4 separate regions of the Homo sapiens genome follow, and regions 2, 3 and 4 are each linked to region 1. The links are contacts of gene promoters, found by promoter capture Hi-C in blood cells and fetal thymus (Javierre and others, 2016). All regions are on one chromosome and are shown on one strand. Each heading gives the region's core, a stretch centred on a gene start or on the middle of the fragment in contact. The rest is flanking DNA. Distances are from core to core; before and after follow the strand shown. Region 1 holds the start of RPS26 (ribosomal protein S26). Region 2 has its middle 2.9 kb from the start of GLS2. Region 3 has its middle 12 kb from the start of TMT1B. Region 4 overlaps PAN2 (poly(A) specific ribonuclease subunit PAN2).

The links. The method cuts DNA at HindIII sites, captures the fragments that hold promoters and counts their contacts. A CHiCAGO score of 5 or more calls a contact.
Region 2: a fragment that was not itself captured here is called in contact with the fragment with the promoter of RPS26 in region 1 in 1 of 17 cell types (naive CD8 T cells); the score reaches 5.3 in naive CD8 T cells.
Region 3: a contact is called between a fragment that was not itself captured here and the fragment with the promoter of RPS26 in region 1, in 1 of 17 cell types (M2 macrophages). The highest score is 5.5, in M2 macrophages.
Region 4: a fragment that was not itself captured here is called in contact with the fragment with the promoter of RPS26 in region 1 in 3 of 17 cell types (total CD8 T cells, naive CD8 T cells and fetal thymus); the score reaches 5.3 in total CD8 T cells.

What each region holds. Positions count from the first base shown.
Region 1 is chr12:56,040,668-56,044,869 of GRCh38, forward strand. It overlaps RPS26 (ribosomal protein S26), which reads left to right and starts at 1,251. Exons shown (of 4, transcript NM_001029.5): 1 at 1,251-1,502; 2 at 1,758-1,935; 3 at 2,696-2,826; 4 at 3,452-4,030. The coding sequence starts at 1,500. The coding sequence ends at 3,487. RefSeq lists enhancers at 972-1,761, 1,210-1,539, 1,680-1,939 and a silencer at 1,000-1,059. The HindIII fragment of the contact is 3,314 bases long and covers 337-3,650 here.
Region 2 is chr12:56,488,911-56,493,112 of GRCh38, forward strand. No RefSeq gene overlaps it. Among named protein-coding and RNA genes, the nearest start is that of GLS2, 2.9 kb to the left of the region's middle. The HindIII fragment of the contact is 1,138 bases long and covers 1,764-2,901 here.
Region 3 is chr12:55,667,988-55,672,189 of GRCh38, forward strand. No RefSeq gene overlaps it. Among named protein-coding and RNA genes, the nearest start is that of TMT1B, 12 kb to the right of the region's middle. The HindIII fragment of the contact is 1,116 bases long and covers 1,263-2,378 here.
Region 4 is chr12:56,315,285-56,319,486 of GRCh38, forward strand. PAN2 (poly(A) specific ribonuclease subunit PAN2) reads right to left here. Exons shown (of 26, transcript NM_014871.6): 23 at 4,024-4,202; 24 at 3,804-3,897; 25 at 2,953-3,150; 26 at 1,652-2,359. The coding sequence ends at 2,325. CNPY2 (canopy FGF signaling regulator 2) reads right to left here and starts at 704. Exons shown (of 6, transcript NM_014255.7): 1 at 537-704. RefSeq lists enhancers at 689-1,277, 778-827, 908-1,057. The HindIII fragment of the contact is 2,294 bases long and covers 1,806-4,099 here.

The DNA of each region.
Region 1 (4,202 bases), core at 1-2,500:
TATTTTTAGTAGAGGTGGGGTGTCACTATGTTGACTAGGCTGGTCTTGAACTCCTGACCTCAGGTGATCCGCCTGCCTTGGCCTCCCAAAGTGTTGGGATTACAGGCGTGAGCCACTGCACCCAGCCTAAGGCTTAAGTCTTTCCGATGGCTCTTCAGAGGTAAATGGAGCTTACACATAATCTTTCAATTAGGGGTCAGATTCACTAATGAGTGGTGAAATAATTTTCGTGGTTTTTGATCAGCATTTATTAAAATAGAGAACAGAAAGATTAAGTAAAAATAAAGAATAGAACATACCAGCACACCTATGACAAGGGTAAGTATCGTTTCATAAAGCTTGTGTTTCAGTTTTGCATGTGCATGTAATCGTGTTTGTGTGTGTACTGGGTACCAATGTAAAATGTATTCGTGCTATGAATCTGGGTGAAAAACGTTTAAGTCATTAGTCCAGGCTATTCCTCCATCCATTTGTTAGGTGACATACAGCATAGTACAGCGGAGCCAGAATACCTACTGCACGTCAGTTCTTCAATCTTTTTTTTTAATTGATTTATTTATTTTTGAGACAGAGTTTCGATCTTTTTACCCAGGCTAGAGTGCAGTGGCGCGATCTCGGCTCACTGGAAACTCCGCCTCCCAGGTTCAAGATTCTCCTGTCTTAGCCTCCTGAGTACCTGGGATTACAGGCGCCCACCACCAGGCCGGGCTAAATTCTTCAATCTTTAAAGTGAGGATAATAATAGTAGCTACCTATAGGCTTGCTCAAAGTTAAATGAGTTAATATTTATAAAGACGCTTACCACAGGGCCAGGCACTGTGCCAGAGATAAAAAGATGAATGAGAAATAGCCCCAGCCTCAATGCACTTCATTGTGGGATTTTCTCCATATTGGAAGGAGGGATTCACAAAATGCTTGTTTCCTCTCAGGCCTTCCTCTTCGTAATCCTACACCTACCTAGTAGAAGGACTGTCAGAGAAATGAGCCCAGGGCGTCCCCCGGTGGCGCAGCGCCGCCTTCGGTCTAAGCACTTGGGGCAGGGGGGAAGGGGGGGAGGGGGGAGCCTCTTGGCTTCGCACTACAATTCCCACCAAGCATCTGTCCCTCTCTGGCCTCTAATAACGAGTGCGCCTTGTGGTCCAGCGTCTGGCAACTTTCACGCCTAGCGTCGCGTATACCGGAAAACTGCATCGTCCAGAATTGCTTCCGAGTCGGCGCGGCGCAAGGCTTGCTGGGAGACACATAACCTCGATTTTCTTCCGCCATCCGGCTAAATAGTCCCATGTGCACTTTGTTCCATGGATAAATAAACACTAGGAACGCATTTCCACCCTAGATTTCAGCAGAAATGCTGAATGTAAAGGAATATTTGAGTAAAGTGAGTTGCCGTTCTTGAAGCCCGTCTCCTAAGGATTCTCCCGGTGTCCGCGTAGGGATCTCATGCTATATAGGAGGGCCCTGCCAGGCACCGTCTCCTCTCTCCGGTCCGTGCCTCCAAGATGGTGAGTCTTCTTGCGTGGTGAGGGTGGGGGTTCGGGTGCAGACTCTGGGATTGTGGGGAAGTGAGAGCCTGGAGCACGGCTGAGGGGTGGACCGAGTGTACATTTCATTTGCTCTGGGGGTCGGCGGGATTTGCGGAGAAACAGGAGATCCGAGCGGCGCCTTCCTGGAGGCTGCCGGTGCGGCTTGTGGCCGGAAAGGGACTGAGGCTGGGTGAGTTGCGCCGTTTTCCTAACAGTTTTCCCATCCTGTCGCAGACAAAGAAAAGAAGGAACAATGGTCGTGCCAAAAAGGGCCGCGGCCACGTGCAGCCTATTCGCTGCACTAACTGTGCCCGATGCGTGCCCAAGGACAAGGCCATTAAGAAATTCGTCATTCGAAACATAGTGGAGGCCGCAGCAGTCAGGGACATTTCTGAAGCGAGCGTCTTCGATGGTAAGTGGGTCACCGGCGCGAACTGTGTGAGGATCCCAGTATCTTAAAGCCTTCGCCCAACTTCGCCCTTTTGGAGGCTCTGTTCTTTGGAGCCTCTCAGGCAATTTCCACGTATTTAAGGTTGTTACTGGTAGAAGAGAATTCTCTTGTTTGCCGTTTTGATTCTTTTCTGGGCAGAGGGTGACTTTGTGATAGAGTGCACAGCCTTTACTCTGAGGTAAAGGTTTGCCTGTTTCGGTTATGAGATTGCAAAAACTAGAAACTTGGTAAATTTGACAATTCTTGTGCTATTGATTATTTGAATATTTGTGAAAATATACAGGTGAGGAAGAATGTCTTCAACGTTTCGAGAATGGAGGCCGTCTAGTTTGGTGTGCAAGGATGATGTTTGGAGCAATAAGAACGTCGCTTTGTTTTTTTCCTTTTATAGAAAGAGCAAGGTTCAGGGTAGGCATTAGGGCGGGTGTAGGTGTAGAAGGAACTGGATTATTGGTTTATTGCATTTAGAATGTCAGTCTGGTCCTTGCGGTGTCAAGATGAACTCACGTGGGATGTTAATTCACTTGTAAAACTGAGGGTTATACATATGTGCTCAGGTATTGGGCTGAACAGGTGCTTTGGGGGTGCTTTTATGTGCCCGACAGGCATTTAAATAGGTTTAGTTTTAATTGACGTAAACATGTAAGGTGCTCTTCATTCATGTAACAAAAAAGCAAGGTAGGTATATAATACCAGTATAACTCTATTTTCTATTCCTTAGCCTATGTGCTTCCCAAGCTGTATGTGAAGCTACATTACTGTGTGAGTTGTGCAATTCACAGCAAAGTAGTCAGGAATCGATCTCGTGAAGCCCGCAAGGACCGAACACCCCCACCCCGATTTAGACCTGCGGTGAGTATTTTAAAAGGAGAATGGAAGCCAGGGGAGTGATGGTTAAAATTTCATCCTGGAGGGTCAGGGTGTCCTATACCTGTAACCTCAACACTTTGGGAGGCTGGGACAAGAAGATTGCTAGAAACCAGCAGTTCAAGACCCCATCTCTTCAAAAAATATTGAGAAGGAAGCCAAGCATGATAGTGTGAACCTATAGTCTGGCTGCTCGAGAGGCTGAGGCAGGAGGATCACTTGAGCCCAGGAGTTTGAGGTTGCAGTGAGCTATGATTATACCACTTGCGCTCCAGCCAGGGCAAAAGTGAGACCTTGTCTCTTAAAAAAAAAAAAAAGTTGCTTCCTCCTGTGGTGCAGGGGGTATCAAATTAAGGTCTGTGCCTCAGGTTAAGCTGTAAGGCAGGTGAGACCCACACCTGAACATGCTTAGAGACACTGCAAAGCAGTGTTAGAATCAGAATTGGTTTTTAGGATGCAGAGTAGTGTTCTCCCTCCACCTCTATCAGCTTCCCATGCATTTGTAGCCTGAATACATCAGTTTGTGAGAGGATGGTGGTCAAGTTCTTTGGGGGAAGGGAGTCTTGGATCCATGGGTTTTAATTTACTCTTTTGTTTCTTTGTCTTTCAGGGTGCTGCCCCACGTCCCCCACCAAAGCCCATGTAAGGAGCTGAGTTCTTAAAGACTGAAGACAGGCTATTCTCTGGAGAAAAATAAAATGGAAATTGTACTTAATATTGCATGTTAAGTGTATCTGTGCCAGATAAGGTGGGGATTTTGTGTGTTAGACCAAGTGTGAAGTGACACACATTATTTTCATGGGGAAGAAAGCTTATTCATGTAATTTAATTTTTTTCTTTTTTTTTTTTTTTTTTTTGAGACGGAGTCTTTGTCGCCCAAGCTGAATTGCAGTGGCGTGATCTCAGCTCACTGCAACCTCCGTCTCCCGGGTTCAAGTGATTCTCCTGCCTCAGCTTCTTGAGTAGCTGGGATTACAGGTGTCTGCCACCATGCCTGGTTAATTTTTGTATTTTTGGTAGAGATGGGGTTTCACTATGTTGTCCAGGCTGGTCTTGAACTTCTGACCTCAGTTAATCCACCAGCCTTGGCCTCCCAAAGTGCTGGGATTACAGGCTTGAGCCACCTCGCCTAGCTATTTATGTAAATTAAACTTTAATTGTGGTCGTATGGTTGGCCTCACAATTCGCATAGCTGTGTGAAATGGAGATTAGGCATCTGAATTTTGGATTTAACCACATCAAGTTTAAGTTGGCATCCTAAAAATGGGTAAACATTAGGAGAATGAGGAAAAGCTATTAGTTGAGTGAGGAGCACATTGGGAAGTGACCTAAACTGAGGTGTTTATACCCCTGGAGGGGGA
Region 2 (4,202 bases), core at 1,083-3,582, 450 kb after region 1:
CTCTGGCGGTTAGGAAGCCTGGGTTCCAGTTTGTGTCCCTCTACCATTTATTTGGTGTAGGACTTGTTTTCAAATCTGGAAAGTTAAGACATTAAAATAAGTTGGCACGCAGAAAAACGTTTTATAAACCATGAAGTGCTCCCCACATTTTTCCTATTTTAATTGTTTGCCCTTGTCCTCCTCACGGGCAGAAAAGAGGCGATATACAAAAAGCATTTTGAAATCCAAGAACATTCAGGACTTTTGCCATTTGCAGCTAGAACTTTCACCTTGTATCTCGGCAGCGCCTAACCCAGCATCCATATTTAGTAGGGACTCATTATGTAAATGATAGCTATTATTGAGTGCCCATGGTGTTCCAACCGCTTAGTTTCTCTCTCCCTCTTACCAGAGACCTACAAAGTAGTTATTAGTCTCAATTTGAAGGTGAGGAAACTAAGACTAGGAAATTAAGAATTCTCGCATAAGGTAACCCAGCTAGTAAGTACCAGAACCAGAAATTAGACCCGTTTTTTTTTTTTAACTACAAGTCTCTCCTTCATGCAGCCCTTCTCAAAAATTAAGCATTGAATTGAATTATCCCGGGAGAAATGACCCCATCCCTAAAGGAGGTATTTTATGTGGAAGTATTATGATACAGTACTGGGAGTCTTTTCCTTGTGATAGTTCTGGCTGTATCACAAAATACTAGTTTTTGTTTGTTTGTTTTTGAGACGAAGTTTTGCTCTTGTTGCCCTAGCTGGAGTGCAATGGCGCAATCTCGACTCACTGCAACCTCCGCCTCCTGGGTTCATGCGATTCTCCTGCCTCAGCCTCCCTAGTAGCTGGGATTACAGGCGCCTGCTACCTCGCCCAGCTAATTTTTTGTATTTAGTAAAGATGTGGTTTCGCCATATCGGTCAGGCTGGTCTCAAACTCCTGACCTCAGATGATCCGCCCGCCTCAGCCTCCCACAAGTGCTGGGATTACAGGCATGAGCCACCGTGCTTGTCCCATAGTTTTCATTTTTGGATTAAAATGAGTTTCAAGGGTACTCGTGGGAAAACAAGTACTGAAACCAGTCAGGTGTGTTCTGTGGAAAGGCAGTTCTCCTTTGCCTTGGTTAGGGTTGGAGGGCTTATTTGGCTTAAAACCAGATGGAGTGACATTTGTTTTTGCTTGTTTTCGCCTTCTGTAGTCATTCTGTGTCTGCTGTATCTGTTCTCCTGTCCGTGGAAAGCCGTCTAATTCTGGGAGGGCTTGCTGCTTTATGCTTGGCTTTGCCCAAGAGGCAGAGTTCTGGGTCTCAATACTTAACGTAAACTCAATCCTGCATTAGTTTTTTTCATACGTAACAGACGAATCTTATCCTTGTTTCATAGAAATATGATTTATCTGAAACGTTTTGATCTATTCAAGAGAAAAATACCATCTGTTAGGGAATTTCTAAACATTACCCAGAAGTAATTTGCTTCCTTTTTTTCCTATTTCTGCCTCTTTGAATTAGCTTTATACTCTAATGAGTTCCTTACTCTCTTTCTCCCAGCACTCTTCCACTAATAGGAACTGGTTGGGTAGTGAAGAAGATCTATGCATGGAAGCAGAGGTTCTTTGCTTAGAGAACTAGCTCCAGCTGCACTTGGACCTTTGGACTAACTGTCTCCAATACAATATTGCTGTCTTTGCATGAGGATGGAGCATGAACTGGTGACTTGGGAGGCCAATGGTACTGTGTAAAGTATAAGATGCTGGAGAAGAACAAGTTTGTTGTCCCAGGTGGTTAAAGCTTGGCAGGGTCAGGTCCTCTTTTTGTTTCTAATTTGAAAAATACTCATCATCTAGTTTAATTTGTGCAAAACTATTAGCCAACTATGACAAGGGCAGCTAGAAATGAAGATTTTCATAACTGAAAGAAAGTTCTTTGTGTCTCTAACAGTGGGCTTTTAGGTTAGTCCATGGCTGTGCCAGAGTTTTGTGGTATGTGAGAGAGGATTAGACTTAATGATTTTGAATCCTTAATAAAAGCTAAATCCGGGCCGGGCGCGGTGGCTCATGCCTGTAATCCCAGCTGCTCAGGAGGCTGAGGCAGGAGAATTGCTTGAATCTGGGAGGCGGAGGTTGCGGTGAGCTGAGATCACGCCATTGCACTCCAGCCCGGGCAACAAGAGCAAAACTCCGTCTCAAACAAAAAAAAAAAAAGAAAAGAAAGAAAGAAGGAAAAGCTAATCCTCTGTGATAGGAAATTGATGTTTGGAGTTTGTTTATTTCTTATGATTTAGAGACTCATTTGTTCTACTCTATTTTGTGTGTGTGTGTGTGTGTGTGTGTGTGTGTGTGTGTGATGGAGTCTCGCTCTGTCGTCCATGCTGGAGTGCAATGGTGTGATCTTGGCTCACTGCAACATCCGCCTCCCGGGTTCAAGCAATTCTCCTGCCTCAGCCTTCCGAATAGCTGGGATTACAGGCACCCGCCAATATGCTCGGCTAATTTTCGTATTTTTAGTAGTGACGGAGTTTCACTATGTTGGCCAGGCTGGTCTCGAACTCCTGACCCCTTGATTTGCCCGCCTCAGCCTCTCAAAGTGCTAGGATTGCAGGTGTGAGCCACCGCACCTGGCCTGTTCTACTCTTTAGACTGTAGCTAGGATGTTAATTGGTCCAAGTAAAAGATTAGTTCATTTTTTTATTAATCTTTGTTAATGATACTATTGTTACAAACTCCTTTCTGCCTTAGTTTCTCCATTTGTAAAAGATAAACTTGTATTTTACTGGGTAAAATGTAAGTACTTGGGGCTCTGACATAATGAGCTTCCATTCACTCAATTAATATTTATTTGTTGGCATTCAGTGTGCCAGGTCCAGTGCTGGAAAATCCAGAAATTTAAAAATTTAATAAACCAGTTTCTACTGGGAGAAATGAGAAAGCTTATGTTTAAAATTCCTAATGAAAAATGCTGTGATGTAGAGACATGCAGAAGAAAGTATAAAGGGGACATCTAACTAAGCTGGGGGTGAAGGGCCACTGGGATAGAAGAGGAATGGTGACTGACAGGAGCTGGTTTTTAAAGCACGAGAGGTGTTTCAGACAGAGGGCTCTACAAGAATAAACATAGCCTGAGAGGAACATTTGAGGGACTCTACCTCTAGTTTGGTTGGAATGAAACGTGGGTATAAGAATGTGGACCAGCCGGGCGTGGTGGCTTATGCCTGTAATCCCAGCACTTTGGGAGACTGAGGTGGGCAGATCACAAGGTCAGGAGTTCGAGACCAGCCTGACCAACACGGTGAAACCCCATCTCTACTGAAAATACAAAAATTAGCCAGGCGTGGTGGCATGCACCTGTAATCTCAGCTACTCAGGAGGCTGAGGCAGGAGAATCAGTTGAACCTGGGAGGCAGAGGTTGCAGTGAGCCAAGATCGCGCCACTGCACTCCAGCCTGGGTGACAGCGAGACTCCATCTCAAAAAAAAAAAAAAAAAAAAAAAAAAGAATGGGGACCAATGAAACTGAGGATGTAGGTATGGGATGCATGTTTTAACTTGATGCTAGACTTTCATGGAGTAAATGAAATTTAATAAAAGTTTAAGCGTGTCTGTGATCTACTCCAGTGTGCTTTCCTAATTCTTCTTTGGTTTAGCAATAACAAAATGAACATTTATAGGACTGAAAAAATATAAATATAAGCCTATTAAAAAACATATCATCACACTGGTCCATTTACGATGCCTAACATGCATTTTCTCTATTTTTCCAAATAATATCTTGTATAATCTGGGTTCTCCAATAGCTATTAAAGTAGATTCTAGCAAGTCTTAATCAACAAAATATACTAAAATAATGTAGATTTTGCTAGAATTCCTAAAAAGGATTTAGAAAAGTCTGTAGGCGAAAGCTAATTTGAAGGAATTTGAAAGCCTTTGCCAACACAGCAAGAAGAAAATACCTTCGGGGTTTGCTTGATAGCATTTTCTTTTTTCTTTTTTCCCTTCTCCAAGTTATTGCTAGAGAAATAGTATTTTAATACTTGTTTTTCTTTGACTTAAAGACTATGAAAGATGTCAGAATCTTGTATTACTCTGTAGTGAACAAATGAGACCCTTCTCTAAAAGACTAGGTTAAATTAACTTTTAACCACATTTACCTAAGTGAAATGCTCCATAAGCCATATTTTATTAAGATTGTATATAATTTGAAATTTTTTACATCACCTACTTTGACCTGTC
Region 3 (4,202 bases), core at 571-3,070, 370 kb before region 1:
TGAGCCACCGCGCCTGACTGCAGATGTTTGTTTTTAACCAATCAAAACTTTGAGTTAATCCAATAAATACAAAGACAGTGTGATCTTATATGGCAATAATAGCAAAGTCTATACTGTGCTTGAGGCCCTTCATGAATACCAGGCCCAGGCCACACTTCTTCTGGTTCCCTGAGTAACAATAAGACCCTTCCTTTCCTTCCTACTGGGAGTTCTTTGCTCTCCTATGGACAGAAGGGAATGAGAATTCAGATAAATCAGCCTTACGTTCTCTCTTGCCAGGAGAGCCACTTGCAGCTCAGTGGATCACAAGTTGGCTCCTCCTAGCAAACCCAAGGTGATGGGGACAGGTGCATCCACTCCCCATCCATGGCCATCATATCTCAGCCCCTGCCAGCATTCTCTTGCCTCTCCAGGCTTCCACGGGGAGAAAAAAAAATCACTCTCACTGCTTTAGTGGATCTACACTATTTTCTTTCCTGGCACGCCAGGGAACTATTACAGAGAATTGTAGAGTAAAAGGACTGGAAGTTGCTGATTTATCTAAATAACTCATTCCCAGGCCAGGCGTGGTGGCTCCTGCCTGTAATCCCAGCACTTTGGGAGGCCAGGACAGGTGGATCACTTGAGACCAGCCTGGCCAACATGGTGAAACCCCATCTCTACTAAAAATACAAAAATTGGCTGGGCGCGGTGGCTCAAGCCTGTAATCCCAGCACTTTGGGAGGCCGAGGCGCGCGGATCATGAGGTCAGGAGATCGCGACCATCCTGGCTAACACGGTGAAACCCCGTCTCTACTAAAAATACAAAAAATTAGCCGGGTGTGGTGGCGGGTGCCTGTAGTCCTAGCTACTCGGGAGGCTGAGGCAGGAGAATGGCATGAACCCCGGAGGCGGAGCTTGCAGTGAGCTGAGATCGTGCCACTGCACTGCAGCCTGGGCGACAGAGCGAGACTCCGTCTCAAAAAAAAAAAAAATACAAAAATTAGCTGGGCATGGTGGCGGGTGCCTGTAATCCCAGCTACTCAGTAGGCTGAGGCAGGAGAATCGCTTGAACCCAGGAGGTGGAAGTTGCAGTGAGCCGCGATCGTGCCACTGCACTCCAGCCTGGGCGACAGAGCAAAACTCCCTCTCAAAAATAATAATAATAATAATAATAATAATAGCTAATTCCCTTGTATCACATAAGTAACAGCCCTTTTAGATCTAGGTTTTAAGAAGAAAAGAGTTTCTTGTGGACCCTTCCTCTCTCTCAACCCATGTTAAGCTTCAGATTTTAGCCAAATAATAACAATCTTTCTTCTTTACAGATTTTATCAGGTCCAAAGTGGCAAGGAACTATCTCTGGTTCCATGAATGAAGAAGACATTGCATGCTGCATCCAGTTTCTTCACAGGTTACCAAAGAAGCAAGCACACCTCACCATAGCAAGGATTAATTTTTCTATCAAGTCAAGACAATCTAGTTTCATATTAAGAAAGCATAGGCTGGGTGCAGTGGCTCGCGCATATAATCCTAGAACTTTGGGAGGCCAAGCAAATGGATCACCTGAGGTCAGGAGTTCGAGACCAGCTTGGCCAACATGGTGAAACCCCATGTCTACTAAAAATACAAAAGAAAATTAGCCGGGCGTGGTGGCGGGTGCCTATAATCCTAGCTACTCGGGAGGCTGAGGCAGGAGAATTGCTTGAACCCAGGAGGCAGAGATTGAAATGAGCCAAGATGGTGCCATTGCACTCCAGCCTGGGCGACAGATCAAGACTCTATCTCAAAAAAAAAAAAAAAAGAAAAGAAAAGAAAAGAAAGAAAGCATATATTGCCCCTAATGTTAACATTTTTACCATATTCCTTCCAAAATGATAACACTAATATGACTGCACCAAGGAATTACTGAGTTTCTGAGCCTGCACTAGCTCTAACAGGTCACTCAGTCCCTCCCAGGTCATGGGTGCGAGCTCCAAATTCTGATCCACAACTCTCTCTCCTGACAGAAAGAAAAGGGAGGTCTTAGAACTTCTTAAGTGTATAATAGTTCACATTCTAACGTGTATCTGGATGGTTTCAATTATTTTTGCTGTGAAATATCAAACCATCGTATTTGAACACAAGAGAATGACATGCAGGAGTCACACAACAAATACATATAACAAGAGCACATTGGGGTGCTGGGAGGGCACGCGCTCTTCTGCAACTTCACCCCATGCTCCCTGTAAGATGTCCTTAGAAACAGAGGCCTGAAAGTCTGCTAACTTCAGTAAAAAGCAGGACATTTTAACAGCCACCCCTTCAAAATGTAAAAATATTGCTTCAGATTGCCAAAAACCATTTTGCACTGAACATTCTGACCTTTACCCCAACCCTGAGCCTCACCCCATTCCTGAAGCTTGCCCTATCCCTGACCTTCTGAGCTGAGGGCCCAGCCCCAGTCCCTGCCCCAGCCCCAGGAACTACCTCATCTGATTCTCACCCTGACCCATGCTTGCTGACCAGGCCTCTGACTATCTGGCCTACCACTTCCATCTAGGCCCACTTACTGCCACACCTAGCCAGCCTGATTTTGGCTAGATCTATTTAGTCCTATTTAGCCAAGCCCAGTCCCAGTCCCAGTCCCAGTCCCCAGACAGCTCCTGTTTAACCCTGCCTGTGAGATGCTGAGTCTCCAGACCTGCTCATCTGGTCACACCTACTAGATTCAAGTCCTTTGCTCTATTTCTCCTGAAGTCTGGCTCTAACATCCGTCAGCCGAGCCCCACAGAGCACTACTTCCTGAGGAGCAAAAGAGACCTAAGACCTGAGCTCACAGGCTCCATCCTTTCCCAGGCAACAGAATTGTTTTCTCGGACAGTGCCTCTCAAAATGGAATGCACATTCGAATGACCTGGGAGTCTTGTTAAAAATGCAGATTCAGATTCAGTAGGTCTGGAGTGAGGCCCTAAAGCCTGCATTTCTAACAAACACGCAAGTGAAGCCCATGTTGGTCCAGAAAACAAACTTTAATTAGCACAGTTCTGGAATACCAATTATAGTTTTGCAAAATTAAAAAAAAATGTTTACAGTATCAACAGCCTTAATTTCTACTAAGGGAAGAGAACTCATCCCCCCATAGAATGCTCCAGCCTACAGAACTTAGAGTCTGTCCCACATATATTGTGCACTAATCACACAGTGCTTTGAATTTCACTCAATAGTTTCCTATATGTGTGTTTTATTATTCATTTGGTTCCTTTACAGCATTTGTTCATTCTGCAAACATTATTGATCATTAATCTATTAGGGCCATAAGAATATATAAGGCATAGTCACTGTGTCCCATAAGGCAACAGGCCATTAAAGAAGATAGATATGGGCCAGAAGCGGTGGCTCACACTTGTAATCACAACACTTTGGGAGGCTGAGGGGGGCAGATCACCTGAGGTCAGGAGTTCAAGACCAGCTTGGCCAACATGGTAAAACCCTGTCTCTACTAAAAATACAAAAAATTAGCTGGGCATGGTTGTGCATGCCTGTTAATCCCAGCTACTCTGGAGGCTGAGGCAGGAGAATCACTTGAACCCGGGAGGTGGAGGTTGCAGTGAGCCAAGATCACGCTGCTGCACTCCCGCCTAGGCGAGAGAGCAAGACTCCATCTCAAAAAAAAAAAAGATAGATAGATATGTAAGCAGATCTTTTCAGCACAATAACAGTATATGTATATAGCGTGGAGGAAAAAGAGACCTGTAACCCCATTGGAGTTGGGGAATCAACAGGAAAGCCATTCTGGGCAAAAAAGTAGCCTGAGCTGAATCTAACAGAGGAGTGAGTCAAATGAAGTGCAGGGGACCCACAAGGCAGAGGAGCAGCCTGGCAGAGGCCCCCGGGTGAAATGGCTGGGTCAGAGAAGAGCTGCACACACCCAGGTTGTTGGGGCACAGTTAGCAGGGAGGAAGCCTCCAAGAAGAGGCTGAGGTGTCAGCCAGGGAACGATCACAGGGACCTTGTGTGCCACATTAAGGATCTTGGACTTTAGCCTGTGGACAATAAGGAAACAATTTAAGTTTTTAAATAAGGCCAAGGCACGTTTGGGTTTTAGGTAAATCACGTTTGGTGACTGTGCAGAAAATTAAACTGAAGGTGCCAAAACTAGAAACAGGCTGGGCAAGGTGACATAAGCCTGTAATCCCAACACTTTGGGAGGCCAAGGTGGGAGGATTGCTTGAGCTCAGGAG
Region 4 (4,202 bases), core at 1,703-4,202, 280 kb after region 1:
TCCATTTTTCCCTGACCCCCCCAATCCTCACCCCAAGGCTTTCAAAGGCCTCATTGTGACTCTGGCTCTACTTTCCAGGAAATGGCCGGGACACAAAGGGGCTTCTCTGTTCCAGCGCTTGAGGGCTCTGATTCCCCCAGGGTGGTGGGTGGGAGCGCGAGCTCAGGACTTGCGGCTCAGCCCCAGACTCTACGTGGATAGGTGAGGCCCTAAGTGTTGGTACTTTAGCACTGCATGCCTAGGGTTCACGGGGCTTTGTGGCAGCTACAGGAGGTAAGTTGGCGATTACGTGAGGACTACAGGCACTAGGGAACTGCCGGCAGGGAGCCCTCAGTCAGGCCAGGAGGCCAGCGAGGAGAGCAATAACTAGGGCCCATTTGGATCCTGCACCGAAGATTCCTGCGTCCCCACCTCCAGCCCGTAAGTGATTACCCGTACGGACACCAGCCCCCTTTCTAAGGACTCCGCCATTGCTTTCGCTTCAGTCCATCCCCAACCCTCAGCGCCCAGCGCCTCGCCGCCCGCATCCGTCCCACCTCTGCTCCCAGGGCCGCCGCCGTGGCCCAAGCGCTGGAAGACCGCTGGACTCTCACTTTGGCCCCAGTGGCTCCCGAAACTACACCTGGCTGCAGGGAGCAGGGCTGTCCGGGATTCTCCAGAGCGCTTCGCCGCCTGCCACACACGGGGTGTCCCGGCGACCGCCTGACCCAGCTCCCCTGACGCTAACTGGTACCTAAGCGGGACTCCAGCGTGCTGCGGTGCGAGCCCCAATCAGACACCGACCCCAAACCCGCCCCTCCAAACTCTCGCGCGAACAGGCAGCTTAGGAGAGGCTCCCGAACAGCAAGGACCCCGGTCAATCGCCGAAGGACCCAGACTTGCGTGGCGAACAGATCCACGTGACCACCAGGGGTCAGCCGTAGAATAGGAGTGGCCTTAAGCGACGACAGAGTCCGGGCGTGCTGTATGGGAGCGGCTAGTCGTGCGCGTGAGCCAGCCCAGGTGGGCTAGGACCTTCAAAACGGTGCGCTGCCGGCCAGCGAGCAGTCCAGGTTTCAATACACAGGAAACTACATCTCCCAGGAAGCACCGCAGCACCGGACCCATCTTTGTGAGCAACTACAAGTCTCAAGCTATCCTGGGACCTGTAGTTTGTCGGCTTACACAATTAACGGAAACCATACTGTACATCTTCAGTCTGACTTAGGGTACTGGGCAGCTATAGCAAAGACCCAGCATTGCCCAGAAAAGGCATAAATTATACCTTTTTCCCCTTTTTTTGAGACGGAGTCTCGCCCTATCGCCCAGGCTGGCATACAGTGGCGTGATCTCGGCTCACTGCAACCTCCGCCTCCCGGGTTGAAGCAATTTTCTGCCTCAGCTAGGGTTACAGTCGCCATCCACCACTCCCAGCTAATTTTTGTATTTTTAGTAGAGACGGGGTTTCACCATCTTGGTCAGGCTGGTCTTTAACTCCTGACCTCGTGTTCCACCCACCTCTGCCTCCCAAAGTGCTAGGATTACAGAAGTGAGCCACCGCGCCCGGCCTAATTATACCCTTTCATATCCATAACTTTGGATTCCGGACCTTTACCTTCAAAGGAAGGAGAGGAAGACTGAAGCCAGAGAACCCACACTAGCAGTTCTCTAATGAGATAAATAACAAACGATATTTTATTTTTATTTTATAAAACATGCAGTTTACAACAAATTTTTAAAAAATGGAACAAAACTTGGGACAGGCAAGTGGGATGGAAGACAGATGCTTCTCAGCCATCAGCAGGAATAAATGAAGCCGGCAGCCAAGCTTTGTCCAGGATCCAAAGGCCCTTTTGGCAATGGTATTGGCAACACTGGTTTGCTTGGGCCACCAACACTCTACTTGCTGGCCCCTCCAGGTATCCCTGAAGCAGTTGGTGACTTGTGCTAAGTCTTGAACTACTGTGGTATCCTCTGTCACTGTCCAGGACTTCAATCCCTAGCCAGCTAGGAACTTACAGTTATGGTTCCAGGAGCTTCTCTGCCTGGATATTAGTCACCCAGGATATTAAGAATACCAATTACTTTCCATCTGGGTCAATTCTAGACTCCATGTCTGTACCACTGTTTTGCAAAGAATGAAGAAGGAATGAATCTGGCTCCTAGAACCTTTGCAACAATTCTGCTGTGTTCCAGTTCAATTAATAGCACCATCTGTGACCCTAGACCCTGAGCACGTCCAGTACTGGAAGTGGACAAGGTATAGCCAACTTAGGAAGCCATCTCCCAGTTCTGGGGCTATAGAACAGTAAAGGGAGAGGGCCGTGGTTCTTTGGGAAGGGTAGTCAGAGCGCCAGCACTGAGGAGAAGACAGCTGCATCTGTCAGAGACAAAACCAAAAGCATGATTCAAGCTGAGTGGAGAAAAAGCATCTTCTCATACTTCCTATGAAGGAAAAATGCAAGAGAAAAAAGGGCATGGACCTTCCCTGAACATTTTAGACTTGGGCAAGAGGAAGTTATAGTTAATGGAGAGTTTCGATAAAATGTATTTTACTGAATGTTAGGAGGATGAAGTGCTTTGTAAACTGTTAAGTGCTATTCTCCATATGTGCAATCAAAATCCACCCAATTGGGGGCGCTCAGGCTCATGCCTGTAATCCCAGCACTTTGTGAGCCCAAGGTGGGTGGATCGCTTGAGCCCAGGAGTTTAAGACCAGCCTGGGCAACATGGCAAAATCCTGTTTCTACAAAAAGTACAAAAATTAGCTGGGTGTGGTGGTGTGTGCCTGTTGTCCCAGGTACTTGGGAGGCTGAGGTGGGAGAATCACTTGAGCCCAGGAAGTCGAGGCTGCAGTGAGCTGTAATCACGCTACTGCACTTCAGCCTGGGTGACAGAGTGAGACCCTGTCACAAACAAACAAAATACAAAATCCACCCAGTCCAGTTTCCCTTGTCCCATCCCAGGTCTTACTCTTGGGACTTGTTTGGCCCTCAGGCTCAGGCACCTTCCAGTCCATCTTTCTGCCCTTCTCATAAAGACCCTTGAGCACCTTGTGGAAAGACTCAGGCTCAGTGCCATTTTTGCTTAGCTCCAGATACTTTCGGTACAGCTGAAGGGCTGTGCGGGCATCCTCAATACTGTCATGGGTTTCCCCTTGAATCTTCAGGTCTGGGGTAAGTAAAGGTGGAATAGTTTGGGACCCAGCAAAGGGAGGTAGGAACATGTCTCCCCACTCCTACCTGACTCCAGAAAACTAAAAAGCCTGACTGCCCTTAAGGAAAATTGTCAGACATCTTCCTCAGTGCACAGAAGGGATATTGAAGTTAATTAAATCCATTAGTAACTGTCACCACTAACTGAGGGTCTCCCCTACTCCCATTTTGTCCTCTAACACTTTTCCTACTTTTTCTTTTCCCCCCATGCTTTTATTTTTTATATTTAAATTTTATTTTAGATTTGGGGTACATGTGCATGTTTGTTACATGGGTGTATCGTGTACTGGTGGGGACTGGGCTTCTGGTATCCCTAATATGCAAATAGTGAACTATGCACCCAATACGTAATTTTCAACCCTCACCCCTCACCCACCACCCCAACTTTTAGAGTCCCTAATGTCATTCTTATGTCCATATGTACTCATTGTTTAGTTCCAACTTATAAGTGAGAATATGTGGTATTTGATTTTCTGTTTCTGAGTTAGTTCACTTAGTATGATGGCCCACAGCTCCATCCATGTTGCCGCAAAGAACATGATTTCTTTTTTTTTAAATGGCTGCTTCTGCTATTAATGTAGCAGGGGCCTACAAGGCAGAGCAACTCACCCAGAAAGTACCAAGCAAGGAATCGCAGGGAAATCATTCGTTTTCGGGGCATATGGAACAGGTAGACAGTGTCAAGGACTTGGTCCTTGGGCACCTGGCAAGGATAAAAGAGGGGGAGACTTAAGGTAGGGGACCTATAATTCCCCATTCTCTAAAGGCACAATGTATACCCTGAGGGGCCCACTCTCACAAGAAGACTCTTAAAAGAGCCCTGCCAAACCATCAGGTTGATGACCCGGAAGTCCTTCTGCAGGCCATGACCCACAAACTTGACTCCAATGTCAATGAGAAAACGAAGCTTTAAGTAGGTAGACTTGAGAGTTGTTAGGTGCTTGGAGGAAATTTTGGCATCGAGGTCACCAGGCTTTATACCCGAGTATTGAGTCAAGTAATCCACCA